Regions from separate parts of the Homo sapiens genome. Here region 1 is linked to region 2. The links are contacts of gene promoters, found by promoter capture Hi-C in human tissues and cell types (Jung and others, 2019). All regions are on one chromosome and are shown on one strand. Each heading gives the region's core, a stretch centred on a gene start or on the middle of the fragment in contact. The rest is flanking DNA. Distances are from core to core; before and after follow the strand shown.

The links. The method cuts DNA at HindIII sites, captures the fragments that hold promoters and counts their contacts. A contact is called where the count stands out against the background at its distance.
Region 1: a fragment that was not itself captured here is called in contact with the fragment with the promoter of CLSPN in region 2 in 1 of the 25 tissues and cell types used here (liver).

What each region holds. Positions count from the first base shown.
Region 1 is chr1:35,098,863-35,102,808 of GRCh38, reverse strand. All of the region lies in intron 4 of ZMYM1 (zinc finger MYM-type containing 1), which reads right to left. Among named protein-coding and RNA genes, the nearest start is that of ZMYM1, 21 kb to the right of the region's middle. The HindIII fragment of the contact is 6,108 bases long and covers 1-3,946 here.
Region 2 is chr1:35,768,645-35,772,507 of GRCh38, reverse strand. It overlaps CLSPN (claspin), which reads left to right and starts at 2,530. Exons shown (of 25, transcript NM_022111.4): 1 at 2,530-2,661. The coding sequence starts at 2,638. It overlaps CLSPN-DT (CLSPN divergent transcript), which reads right to left and starts at 2,413. Exons shown (of 3, transcript NR_199050.1): 1 at 2,260-2,413. RefSeq lists a silencer at 2,688-2,917. The HindIII fragment of the contact is 25,943 bases long and covers 1-3,863 here.

The DNA of each region.
Region 1 (3,946 bases), core at 991-3,490, 670 kb after region 2:
TCTGTACACCAAAGGATGATGGTTGTCTCAAGGAAAAGCCCATATGGAAATGTTGAGTTATAAATGAATTAGCCACTTTTTTCATGGAAAACATTTTTACTTGAAAGTACTGTAAACAGTTTACTGTAAATAAAGACAAACTATTATCCAGAAGTGGGTATCTGCAGATATTTTCTTGAAAATGAAAAAAATGAGACTGTCACTTCAAGTAAAACGACAGTATTTATCGCCAACAATAAAATTTTGTCTTTCAAGTGATAATTAGAATTTTGGAAAACTTGTATCTTCCAACTTCAACTTGATCGATACCCAAAACTTAAAAACTTTTCTGAGATTAGTGGTGATTTTTAAAATACTGCATAATAAAATGAGAACATCTAGAAGATCTGCAGAACTCAGTGAACCAGTATTTTCCAAACTACAATAGCATATTACAAAAATCATTCACGGGTAAAAGATCCATTCAAAGTACAAGATAGATTAACGAATTCTAACATAACAGAGTGCAAAAAGTTCACTGATCCACATGGTACAAAAAGTTTGATCCCACATTGCAACTAGCCTTTAAGAAACTACCACTTGATTTTTGGTTGTAGTATCAAAGAACACCCACAACGATCTAAAAGGCTACTAAAACACTCCCCCCTTTTCCAATCACCTATTTATGAGGCCAGGTTTTCTTCAGACTTCAACCAAAACAACACTTTGCAATAAAGTGAAGGCAGAAACAGATACAAAAATCCAGCTAGATGTAAAGTGATTTGCAAAACTGATAAAACAATACTTATCAATTTTTAAAAATATGGGTATTTTTCATTTAAAATGTCATTTAATTTTTGATACAGTTAATATTCATAATCTACATAACTAAAGCTCTTTGGGTGTTCAATAATTTTTAAGGGTACAAGAAGTCCTGAGACCAGAAAGTTTGAGAACAGCCACTATAGAAAATATCAATACACCTAATAGCAGGCGCGGTGGCTCACACCTTTAATCTTGGGAGGCCAAGGTGGGCAGATCACTTGAGGTCAGGAGTTCGAGACTAGCCTGGCCAACCCCGTCTCTACTAAAAATATTTAAAAACATTAGTATTTTGTGATCAATGTTTTGGGAGTTATGAACACGACACTGTAAAATCACAGACCACAGAAGAATTAATTTGGGGGGTGGGCGGTTGTAAGAGGAGAGTGAGGAATGGTGTGGGAATAGACAAAAGGTAAAGATATTTGAGGCATACCTTTCAGACAGAATAAAGATACCAGCCAGATGGGAAGGGAGGAAGAAGAAACTACATCAGCGACGCATGGAAGTCTGAAAATGCTTCTTAGTTTTTATTGCTATCAGCATACTAGATTGCTGGCTTCTAAGAATCTACTAAAGCTTTATAAAAAATTGAAAAATGAATGTTGGCCAGGCACGGTGGCTCACATGTGTAATCCTGGGAGGCTGGGGCAGGCAGATACCTGAGGTCAGGAGTTGGGAGACCAGCCTGGCCAACACGGTGAAACCCCATCTCTACTAAAAATACAAAAATTAACGGGGCATGGTGATAGGCACCTGTAATCCCAGTTACTAGGGAGGCTGAGGCAGAAGAATCGCTTGAACCTGGGAGGCGGAGGTTGCAGTGAGCTGAGATCCCGCTATTGAACTCCAGCCTGGGCAAAACGGTGAGACTCCGCCTCAAAAAAAAAAAAAAAAAGAATGTTGGCTGGGTACGGTGGCTCACGCCCATAATGCCAGCACTTTGGGAGGGCAAGCCAGGAGGATCACTTGAGCCCAGGAGTTCAAGACCAGTCTGGACAACATGGTGAAATCATCTCTACAAAAAAATACAAAAACTGGACAGGCAGGGTGGCATGTGCCTGCAATCCCAGCTACTTGGGAGGGTAAAGGTGGGAGTATTGCTTAAGCCCAGGTGGTCGAGGCTGCAGTGAGCCAAGATGGTGCCACTGCACTCCAACCTGGGTGACAGACAGGGACCTTGTCTCAAAAAAAAAAAAGAAACGCCAACAAATTAGGAACAACTTTCCGATAAATAAATCAAACCTTAGTGCAGGGGCCTATTTTGGACTTTATTGATTGCATTCAGGATTTGCGGTTGGTTCCAACTGAGATACTAAAGTGAAGAAATGACACTTCTTAAATACAAAGTTCCCAAGAACAAGTCACATCTTTTTTTTTTTTTTTGAGACAGGGTCTCACTCCGTTGCCCAGGCTGGAGTGCAGTCGTACAATCTCAGCTCACTGCAACCTCCGTCTCCTGGGTTCAAGCAATTCTCCTGCCTCAGTCACTGGTGTAGCTGGGTTTACAGGCACACACCACCACGCCTGGCTAATTTTTATATTTTTAGTAGAGACAGGGATTTGTGGTGTTGGCTAGACTGGTCTCGAACTCCTGACCTCCAGTGATTCTCCTGCCTTGGCCTCCCAAAGTGCTGGGATTACAGGTGTGAACCACCTCGCTTGGCCCACAAATCGCATCTTTCTAATAAGATTTAAAATGTCATCTTCAAAGGGATCTTCCATTTGGTCCATGAAATAGAATAAAAAGTGCATTGACTCAAAACAGATATTAAATCATTCCTATAAAAGAAATCTTAAAAAGTAACTAAAAATCAGGCAGGGCGTGGTGGCTCATACCTATAATCCCAGCACTTTGGGAGGCCGAGGAAAGCAGATCACCTGAGGTCCGGAGTTCGAGACCAGCCTGGCCAACATGGCGAAACTGCATCTCTACTGAAAATAAAAAAACTAGCTGGGCACAGTGGCACACGCCTGTAATCCCAGCTACTTGGGAGGCTGAGGCAGGAGAATTGCTTGAACCCAGGAGGTGGAGGTTGCAGTAAGCCAAGATTGCACCATTGCACTCTGGCCTGGGTGACAGATTGAGACGAGACTCCGTCTCAGACAAAACAAAACAAAACAAACAAACAAACAAAACTGAAAATCAGCACGGTGGCTCACACCTGTAATCCCGGCACTTTGGGAGACCAAGGCAGGAGGATCACTTGAACTCAGGAGTTTAAGATCAGCCTGGGAAACATAGTGACTCTGTCTCTGCAAAAATAAATAAATAAGTAACTGAAAATTATTTTCAGTTCAGGATAGTTTCACTGGAAGATAAAAAAACCCCAGAAGAATAGCTAAAATTTATGTAAAAGGCTAATTAATGTGGAATTTTTAAGTTTTGAAAAAAGCAGCCTACTCTGAATCATGGATGGCCTTTTCCAGCCTAAAATTTACTACCATCTTTCTACCCACTACAATATAATATTTTTTATAAAAAAATTTTATTCTAGAGGAAGTAAAACTTATCTCAGATTTTTACTCATATTGGATTTCCATGCCTAGGAGAACTTACACACTAAATCTTTCCTGCTTCAGCCTTTTTCAATCTGTCTGGGACATCTGCTGAAGATGTGTAGTGAGTCTCTAAGGTCCCTTCCAGTTTTATGACTCTGCAGGGAGAGAAAGCAGGCTGAAGAGAGTACTATATGGCCCATAGCAAAAAAGTAAAAAGACAAAAGACTAGTATAGTATTGAAGGGTTGAAAAGCAAAAGAGAATGGTAAGTAACGTGCCATGGAATAAGACCTGAAGCAACAGATAATAACTGAAGCAGCAGCCAGAGGAGCTGAAGCAAACCCATCAAAAGGGTTTGTGAGTTTGTTAAGAGAATAATAATAGTTAACATTTATTGAGTTCTTACTACATGCTGGTATTGTTCTGACCACTTAAATATACTATTTAATGCTCATAATTCTTTTGTACATTTATCAAAAACAGATACGAATACTAAGTAACAAAGAAGTTCTCAATACTGCTCCAACTTTAGCATGTATAGGAATCACATGGCGATAAATGCAGTTCTGAATCAGCAGGTCTGGGTAAGACCTGAGAAAGTGCATTTCTTTTTTTTTCTTTTTGAGACAGTCAGTGCAGTGGCC
Region 2 (3,863 bases), core at 1,281-3,780:
TCTAGGTTGCAATGATACAGAGGCCAAGAAAACAAAACGCCTGTTCTCTTGGAGCAACAACAGACAAATAGATATAAATAAAATTTCAGGCAAAGGAAAGTGTTATCAGGGAAACCAGCATAGGATAAGGAGGCAGAACACAGAGGATGCTCAGGCAGGGTCTTTCTGAGGGGTATGAGCTCTGAAGTCACATAGAGTCTGAAAATTGGCTCCACCAGTTTCTAGCCTTTTAAAAGTCTGGTTTCCTCATCTTCTAAGAAAGAGATAATAATATTACAAGTTTACTCTGAAGATTAAATAAGATAACACTTATAAAATCCTTGCAACTGTTTCTGCCACTGAGTAAGGCTTCAATAAACGTTAGCCCTCCATATATGATGGGGAGTGCCATAGATGTATACCTGGGAATCGTTGATGTAGAAATTAATAGTAAATGGATGAAAAGGTGGATAAACCAAGACACAAAAAGAGAAGAGGATGGATGATGGGCTCTTGTTGGTGGGGACAGAAGTGGATTGAGAGATGGTGGGGAAGTAAAGAAATGAAGATGTGGAGAGGGAGCTTTTTTCTGAACCCAGCTAAAGGTGGAAACTTGGAAGAGGAGGCCAGTGGATTGGGTGAAGAACCAACCATTTGGTATACCTGTGACTGAGGAGGTTCTCAGGATGCAGGACTTTTAGTGCTAAAACTAGGAAAGTCCTGGGCAAGCTGGGCCAAGCTGGCCACACTGGCAGTGGATATGACCATGGAGGGTGAAGTGAGCAATAAATACTCTGACCTTTCTTTCCTGGTGGCCTCTCATCTCCTTACAGTAACCTTATAAGGTGTCTTTACAGGGGCCTGACCCAACCAGAAGGGCAAGGGAGCTGGGATAATACAGTCTAGAGAGGTCAGCCTTGCCTTGACACACACCAGGGTAAAGGAAGGACAGAGAATTGACCTGGAGAGGCAAAAAATAATGGCCAGCACAGTGGCAAAACTGGGATTAGAATTGTCTGGGATAGGCCAGGTGCGGTGACTCACACCTGTAATCCCAGCACTTTGGGAGGCTGAGACGGGCGGATCACGAGGTCAGGAGTTCAAGATCAGCCTGGCCAAAATGGTGAAATCTTGTCTCTACTAAAGTTACAAAAAATTATCTGAGCGTGGTGGCACATGCCTATAATCCTAGCTACTCAGGAGGCTGAGGCAGGAGAATCGCTTGAACCCGGGAGGCGGAGGTTGCAGTGAGCCGAGATCACGCCATTGCACCCAGCCATGGTGACAGGGAGAGACTCTGTCTCAACAAAAAAAAAAAAAAAAAAAAAAGAACTGTGTCTGGGATAAACCTGATTTCAGAGCTTCAATTCTTTTTCCAGCCTTGTTTAAAGGTAGAATGCCCTCTAGGAGTGATGAGTGCTTTCTACATCCTCAAATTAACTCTACAGAGAATTATAAAGATTATCCAACCATATTCTTTGGTATCTGAGCAGCCCACAAAACTTTTTTCTTTAGAGACAAGGTCTCCCTCTATCGCCTACGCTGAAGTGCAGTGGTGCGATCATAACTCACTCTAACCTCAAACTCCTGGACTCAAGCCATCCTCCCACCTCGGCCTCCCAAAGCGTTGAGATTACAAGCGTGAGCCATGGAGCCCGGCCCTCTTTAAAAAATAAAAGTGGGCCGGGCACAGTGGCTCACGCCTGTGAGGGGTATGAGGCCTCCCAGCACTTTGGGAGGCCGAGGCGAGGATCATTTGAGATCAGGAGTTCGAGACCAGCCTGGCCAACATGGTGAAACCCCGTCTCTACTAAAAATACAAAAATTAGCCAGGGGTTGGTGGCGGGTGCCTGTAATCCTAGCTACTCAGGAGGCTGAGGCACGAGAATCGCTTGAACCCGGGAGGCGGAGGTTGCAGTGAGCCGAGATCGCGCCACTGCATTTCATCCTGGCTAACAGAGGGAGACTCCATCTCAAAAAAAAAAAAAGTGTGTGTGTATACACATACATGTGTATGTGTATATATGTGTATGTATATATGTGTGTACATATGTGTGTGTGTGTGTATATATATATATATATATATATATATATATATATATATATATTCAGTGGTAAGTGTCATGTACAAGAGGCACACAGGATCTAGCTGCTCCAGAAATGAAGTCAGTGGAGAAAATCCCCACGGGAACCTTGGAATTCCTCTAAAAAGTTCAGGTACAGGACACTCCCAGGTGCCCAGGAACCGTTTCCCAGCTCACTTCCCCCCGAAAGACTCACCCCTCCAATCGCACTCGATGCTTTGGCAAGTGTCAAAGGTCAAAGACCACGGCTCGCCTGGTACCGACTGCCCCGCCCCCGTGCACCTCCAGCTCCCCCAGGCTCCGCTACCAGCAGCTGCGACCCGCCAACTCAGCCTGGGTAATAGGAGATTGGGCGGCCAGAGGCGCTGCGTGATTGGTGGGTCGGAAGGGGGCGGGGACTCGCTGGAAAGCCCCCTCTGGATTGGTGCAAACCATCTGGGTGGGACCTCCACTCTGGCTGGGCGGGAAAGCAAGAACAGCACTGCTGGGCTGGAGACGGCGGGAGCCGCTGCTCTCCGGCTGAGGGAATCAGAGACAGCTCCGTCCCTAGTGGAGCGCAGGGGAGGCAGAAGTCATGACAGGCGAGGTGGGTTCTGAGGTGAGTTTATGCACACGCCCCCCACGGGGGCTTAGAAGGCCGGGCACCGAGAGGTTAGGTGGGGCCGGGGTAGACCCCGCTGACCCGAGGCGCCCGGGCGGGAGGACTGCGGCTCCCGGCGTTCGCCGCGCCGGCTCCCGCGGCCTCGAGACTCGGCCGGGATGGGTTCCGACCGGGCATCCCGTCCCGCCGCCGGGCTTCCCGCGCTTCGGGCTCCGTGGCCGGAGAGCTCCAGGTCTCTGCGGCGCGCACTGCCGGCAGCCCAGCCCCTCTTCAGCCGGTTCCTGCCGCCAGCCCTCCCCTTTGGCGCGTTTCCTGTCGCGGAAGCTCCTCCCCTCAGGGTGCTCTGAAAGCCGGGAGGCTCTAGCCGAACCCGGCCGCAGCGGTGCGGGGGGATTCTCCGCAGAGAGAGGGCGAGCGAGGGTGTTAGGGAGTTCCACACTGGGCCTGGGAGGGGCCCTGGAGGTCATCGCGCGCAGGCCCTTTGCGTTTTCCGACCGGGCCCCGAGTGGGGAAGTCACCGCTGGGGCTCCTGGCTGGTGGCTGGCAGCTCCCTGGCGAAATTGGGCATAGAAAACAGATGTTTCCAGAGCTGTGTCCTTTCTGGGCCGGATTCGGGCAAGGCACTCCCGCCTTAGGAGCAAAATTTAAAGGGGCGCCAAAACCCTCAATCAAACTCATATTTTAATGCAATATTTTTAAAAAACCAAAATTAATGCAAAAACTTTTTATGATTTGATATTGAACAAAATATCAGACGTTTAAACAAAGACGAGATCCGACCAGTCATTTGCACGACCTTGCCTCAATCACCTCACCCTAATTCCATCCCTGTTTCCAATAAACTTTATTTACAAAAGCGGGCATATTATTTACCTCATGAGCTGTAGATTATTGATTTAATTTTTTAAAAAATATTGCATTAATGTTATTCATTTTGATTACTGAATTTTTTGAGACCTCACCCCACCCTGTTACTGGCCCTGCCCTTTGACGTTGCTGCAAATTGCCTAGAAGATAATCGTCATTCAAAGCAGCCCTATTCCTTGAGCTGTCTGGTTACCTAAATTCGGTTTCCACACTCACAAACAGAAGTAATAGTTTTACTGCTTTGGATTGTTGAGAGGATCATCAGTGCATACATATTAATTCTCAGCAATCCCAGCACTTCGGGAGGCTAAGGCCGGCAGATTGCTTGAGCT